2 separate regions of the Homo sapiens genome follow, and region 1 is linked to region 2. The links are contacts of gene promoters, found by promoter capture Hi-C in blood cells and fetal thymus (Javierre and others, 2016). All regions are on one chromosome and are shown on one strand. The core of a region is centred on a gene start or on the middle of the fragment in contact, and the rest is flanking DNA. Distances in the headings are between cores, read along the strand shown. Region 1 overlaps LOC105369322 (a long non-coding RNA gene). Region 2 holds the start of TMEM109 (transmembrane protein 109).

What was found. The method cuts DNA at HindIII sites, captures the fragments that hold promoters and counts their contacts. A CHiCAGO score of 5 or more calls a contact.
Region 1: a fragment that was not itself captured here is called in contact with the fragment with the promoter of TMEM109 in region 2 in 1 of 17 cell types (fetal thymus); the score reaches 5.3 in fetal thymus.

The regions. Positions count from the first base shown.
Region 1 is chr11:60,826,648-60,829,483 of GRCh38, reverse strand. All of the region lies in intron 2 of LOC105369322 (a long non-coding RNA gene), which reads left to right. Among named protein-coding and RNA genes, the nearest start is that of CCDC86, 14 kb to the left of the region's middle. The HindIII fragment of the contact is 474 bases long and covers 1,251-1,724 here.
Region 2 is chr11:60,912,904-60,915,822 of GRCh38, reverse strand. TMEM109 (transmembrane protein 109) reads right to left here and starts at 1,665. Exons shown (of 4, transcript NM_024092.3): 1 at 1,555-1,665. TMEM109-DT (TMEM109 divergent transcript) reads left to right here and starts at 1,760. Exons shown (of 2, transcript NR_186356.1): 1 at 1,760-1,863; 2 at 2,346-2,657. RefSeq lists enhancers at 867-1,036, 431-1,429, 2,428-2,919 and a silencer at 1,217-1,376. The HindIII fragment of the contact is 3,992 bases long and covers 406-2,919 here.

The sequences.
Region 1 (2,836 bases), core at 238-2,737, 86 kb after region 2:
CCATGCCTGGCTAACTTGTGTATTTTTTGTAGAGACGAGGTTTTGCCATGTAGGCCAGGCTGGTCTCGAATTCCTGACTTTAAGTGATCTGCCTGCCTCGGTCTCCCAAAGTGCTGGGATTACAAGCGTGAGCCACTGTGCCTGGCCGCATTCATGAAAATATTTTTATTTAACAGCTTCTCACTTAGCAGCAGGGTTTCCAGTAACAAATCCATTAAGTGGGGGAACAGGTGGATACTTGTCCATCCACACATACAGACGTGAGACACCTAGGGTCCCTGCTGTGCACACACACGGACAAGATATGCAACTTTAGTCACTAAATCCTGGTGGATGTGACCCAAGCCACATGTCAACTTTTTGTTGACAGCAAAACAGCGACATTGAGGGATGTTTCTTAGACAGAAAGAGCAGACCCATCTCCATGCTGGGGTGTGTATGAGGATGGGGGTAGTGACCTCTGGGGCTGGGTGTTACAAAGGGAAGGCCAACCCTGCAGCCAGGAGAAGGGGAAGATCGCAGAGCCCCAGAGGTCAGATGCTGGGAGGAGCTCAGCTCCCAGGATCAGCAGATGCCTTGAGTGCAGGCTGTGGCTGGGGGCTGTGGGGCCTGGTGGGTGGATCCTGGGAGTGGCTGCTGTGGCCGTGGGAAGTTCCTGAGCTGGGTTCAGGTACTGGAGTCGGGAGAAGAAGGAAGGGCCAAGGCCACTCGCCTTTAGTCAGCCCAGAAGCAGCCCATGTGACCCTGTGATCCTTTTAGGTTTTCCTTCTGTGCTTTCTCTGGCGATCCAGGCTTTCCTCTCTGCCCACAGCCCTCCACAGACCACGTGGTGGTAGCCTGAGCCCCCAGACCTTGTGCTTTGGGCTGAGTCCTTCTTGTAGCTCTGGTCTTCCCTGAGGAGAAGGTTGCCCGGGAGTCGTACCTGGATTCTGGGGATGGATGTGATCTCAGCCAGGTCACCTTAGTTCTCTGGGCCTCAGTTTCCTCATCTGTGACACGTGGTCAGTCTCTTCCCTGCCCCTTCAGGCCTGTCATGAGGGTCGGGGGAAGGAGCTTGTGGAAGCCCCTTGATGGAGGGAGCTGCTGTAACCACCGTCTCCCAGCGCATGTAAGGCTATAGTTGTCAGCCAGGATCCAGAAGCCTCACCGCTGCCCTTCCTTCCTGCAGCATCGGCTGCCACCACCAGAATCTGGCGGCACCATGCGGCACTTGTCCTAGTCAGTTCTACCTTGGTGCTGAGCTATAAGCTTTTGTAAACATCTTCTTCCCTAGCCACCTCCCTGTTCTCACATGTCCTTCAAGACAGCATCTCCCCAGTGTAGACCAAGTGGGGCTCAGCACGGCCATGGTACAGATGGTTTAGGATGGCAGGAGGGGTTCTGCCTGCCACTCCCCACACAGCCCTCTTGTTGTCCCTCCTCCCTCGGCTCCCCTGTCCAGGCTCTGGGGATCGAGTGAGGGCCTGCCTGTCCTGCAGAGACCTTGCCAACCCACTCACCAGCTGGGTGTAGCAGAAGGTGGCATGGAAGCCCAGGAAGGTAGACAAGAAGGCGATGCCTAGTGCCAGGATGGTGAAGAACAGCAGCAGCACCGAGAGACTCTTCCAGGGCACCTGCAAAACCAGGGTGCAAAGCCTGCAAAAACTGGGCAGTTTTACAGGCCAGCCAGTCCCGGAATCAGTCTGCAGATTCTGACCAAGGAGATGGATAAAAGAAGGGAAGCTTTCTAGAAGGGGAGTGACCTGTCATCTAGTGAGCACCTGTTACGTGCTTATTTTAATCTTAGTTGCCTTATTAGATAGCTACTCTGATTAGCCCCATTTCACAGAGGATGAAACAGAGGTTCAGAAAAATTGAGGTACTTGTCCAAAGCCACACAGCTGGTATGTGAAAGCTGGGATTCAGACCCATCCAATTCCAAGACCCATGTGGTCAACCATTCAGACTGACACCCATCAGCAAAAAAGTACAGAAAGGTCAAGTAAGAAAATACATGGAAAAGCATGTATTTGGCAGTAAGCTACTGGCGGCTGCCCTGAGAGGGCTTGAGGTCTGTAGAGACGGGAGAGGAGGAGATGGAGTCCGTAGGAGATTGTTGCTGTGAAAGGGAAGAGAGGGGAGACCACAGTCAGAGAGGGACACGGGGTCTCCGGGACTTGAGTTTCTGGACCAGAGGAGAGGGAGAGGCATGGATGGAGGAGAGAGCAGCTAGGGAAGGTGAACACAGTGGACTAGGGTCGTGGGGGCCTAGGAGGAATGATTTGTCCTCTACTGATAAGGAAAGCACAGAGAGGGGCTGGGTGAAGATCAGTTTCACGTGAGGTCACGGGCAGGAAGTTGAGTCTTGGGGCCGTTCAGGGACCCCAGGCTACAGGGGAAGGTCGGGGATTCTGGGGCAGCTGGGTCACTGAAGTGGTCAAAGTGTGGGCAGCAGTGGGCAGTGTGTCCCTCGCCCCTGCATGGTGTGTCAGACCCACCTGAAGAGAGTGTTTCTCCTTTCCTCTCTTTCCCTAGGATGAGAGCAGAGGAAACTCCTCCCCCAGTATTCCCAGCCCCATTTTTGCCACGTCCAGGTCCCTGGTAGCAATCTCATGACATAATCACATGTCTTTGAAAAGATGTGACCTCAATGGCCACAGCCAGAAGGCAGGACTCACTGATAAATCTTAGGTATTATTATGCTGGCAGTCCTCCTAATGCACCCTTGACCTCTATGCTCTTACAGGGGAACGTCCTTGGTAGGAGGCAAGCAGCTGGAATATCTTCCTCCAAGCAAATGATTATTATTTTTTTTAAGAAACAGGGGCTCACTCTGTTACCCAGGCTGGAGTGCAGT
Region 2 (2,919 bases), core at 416-2,915:
TGAGAAGGCGCCACTGCTTATGTTTAGCTGTGGTTTGCTACAAGGGTAGGATGGGGCATTTCGCGCCCCCCCCTCCCAATCAAGGCTCCTTCCTCCTCTTCTCTTTCCTTTTGTTAGTTTCATTTCATGCTATGAATCACCAGGTGGCAGGAGGGGCGGCAAAAAGTGCCCTCTACCGGCTCTGACTGTCCCGCCGCTGCTCATAGCTGCCCCTAAGGAGCGGCGGTTCTCAACTTTGGCTGCCCATCGGAACTGCCTGTGCAGCCTGTTAAACAAGGACGTCTGCCCCACCCAGGGCTACTCACTCAGACTCTTCCAGAGAGGGACTCAGCCCTTTGTTTTGCAAAGCTCCTCAGGAATTTCGGATGCATAGCCAGCAGCTCAGGGAAAAGTCTAAGCAAAGCTTCAAAAGTGCAGCAGTGTACAAAGGACCCCTGACTTCCGTCCCAGGCTCAAGTGTGCCACGGACTAGAAGCTACTACCTTACGCCTGTTACTTAACCTGCCTGAGTTGCAGTCTCCTCAAACGTAAAAGGGAGTGAACCCAGGTGAAGAGTTGCTGTAAGGAGTTAAGATATTTCTGCAGCAAGCGCTTTGTAAACTAAACATCTATAGAAATGTTGCAGCACACACATTACCACTGACTATATATCGTAGCATAATTTAGCAGTTTATCAACCTGCCTTCCCCAGTAGACCGAGCGACTCCCGGTTAGACTTGACATGTTGGAATCCCCAGCGCCTAGTAGGAAAGATGACTAATAAATGTTTATTAAATGAATATTAGCAACCTGCCAAGAAACCGTGAGGGTCGAACGAGAAAGCCATGGAGAGGTGAGGAGGGAGGTTATTTTAATAGTAGATCCAAATATACAGCAGCCACACGAGAAGCACAGCTGAGTCTAAAGGAAGGTCCTAAACAAGGCGAAGCCGCCACTGCAGAGAATGAAGTCAGCGCCCTGGCAGGTTGGGGGCAGCTCCCACTAAACCCCTGACAGCTGCTGCCCAGCAACTGTTTGGGGGCAGGGCGACGGCAAAGGGGCAGCTTCCCTGCCGCTCCGCGCCCTAACCGGGGCGCAGCCTCCCGGAGACAGGGTGTCAGTGGCATGTGCTATTTCGAACGGCGCGTCCCCTGCCAAGCGCTGAGGGGTAGCGTCGCTGGCAAGGAACGTGGCGCGACCCATGAGTTTGGGGCCCCCCGAAGGGCTCGAGCCGAGGCTGCAGGAGGCTGGGCCGTGGGTCGGGGTTCGGGGGCTCGGGCTTGGCGCTGGCCTGGTCCCCACGCCCGGGAGCCGCTCCACCTCTGCCGGACCTCGGAACCTCGCCGCAACCCTCTTCTCCCCGGAAACGTGCGCCTCCCGGGTTGCCTGGAAACGACGCCCCCGGTTGCATAGCAACGGGGATCCGGGTCCCCGGTTTGTTTCGCACGCTGGGCGCGCGGACCCCTCCCCACTCGGACTCTCCAGGCCTCGCGGCTCCGCCTGGTGCCGCCTGCAGCGGCTGCTGTCTCCCCTTCCCGTGCGCTGCCCCACATTCCGACCTCGGCCCGCTCTCACCTTTCTCAGGCCACTGCTATCCTTCACGTGCGACTTCGCTGAAACGCGCCACCAAACCCGCGCCTCAACTCGGGGCGCTGGTTTACCTTCTCCGCATGCGCAAGGCGGGATGAGCTCGGAGACTAGCCGGCCTTCCTCACAATCGAAGCCTGTGCCGGGAGCGCATGCGCCCCGCTTTATCTATTGCGTTTCTTTTTCCCCCCACAAGCATTCCCACCGAGAGAAGAATGGGATCGGAAGTTCCAGCAGGGAACGGAAGTCTCTGGCTGGAAAGGGGAAATAAGTGACTATATCTGGGCTGTAGAGTGGGTAAACTGGATCTTTGAAATCGGAGTGGAAGCTAATCCTCCTCTTGCCACCACTCGGCATTTTGGGTCATGTAGTTCTAGAGCTACAAATGTTCCCTGGGGCATTGTGGGCAATGTAGTTCTAACCGAGCCGCTAACGAGCACCTAGTCTTCCCATACACTTTTCGCGCTAAAAAGGCACAAAAGAGAAAGATATTAAAGGAGCAATTAAAAGCACACTGCTCTAGGAAAACGAATGCGCTCCCCCAGAGAGAAAATTCATACCTGAATACTGTAGACGGCTCCCAAATGTTAGCTCAGAATTTCAGAGAAAGAGAGGAACCAACTCTCACTCTCCTTTTTCTGCCACAAAGGCAGTGCATAGGGACAGGAGGCAGATAAATGCTAGGTAGAAAAGAGCGGGTCCCTGGTGAAACCCCACCCTCAAGCCAAAAAGCCTGAAACCATGGCCCAAAGTGAGAACTTCTATCCATGTTTTTCCAGTTGAATGTTGCCTTTTCCTAAGCCACCCATGGCTCTGCCCTGCCTCATCCTGTGCCTAGAAAGACCCCAGACTCATCTGGCAGAGAGGAGAAGCAGCTGGATGAGGGGACGACCATGGCTGGATGTCAGAGAGAAGCAGCTTGTCTTCAGAGGGACAGCTTAAGGCGTAACTTCTGAGACGAATCTGGCTGGAGATAGCTGGACTTCAAGGGAAGACTACATACCGGCCTGTCCCACCCCCCTCTTTTCAGCTCACCTTCCCTCTGAAATCCACTTTGATCAGCAATAAAATCCCAGGCATTTGTCCTTTAATTTGTTCGTGCAGCTTTATTTTTCTTGGACGCTGGACAAGAGCTCGGGAGCCACGAGTGCGGATACAAAAGCTGTCACGCTGGCCCTCTGCCCTTGCTGGTGGAGGGCAACCGCGGGCCCACGGAGCTGTTAACACTTAAGCTGTCCACGGACGACAGAGCCAAAAGAACACTGTAACATGCCCTCTGGGGCTTCAGGAGCCTCAGGCACTCTGCCTGGACACTGCCCCGGGGCCTGCACGGAGTTCGCTCCTGCCGGTGTC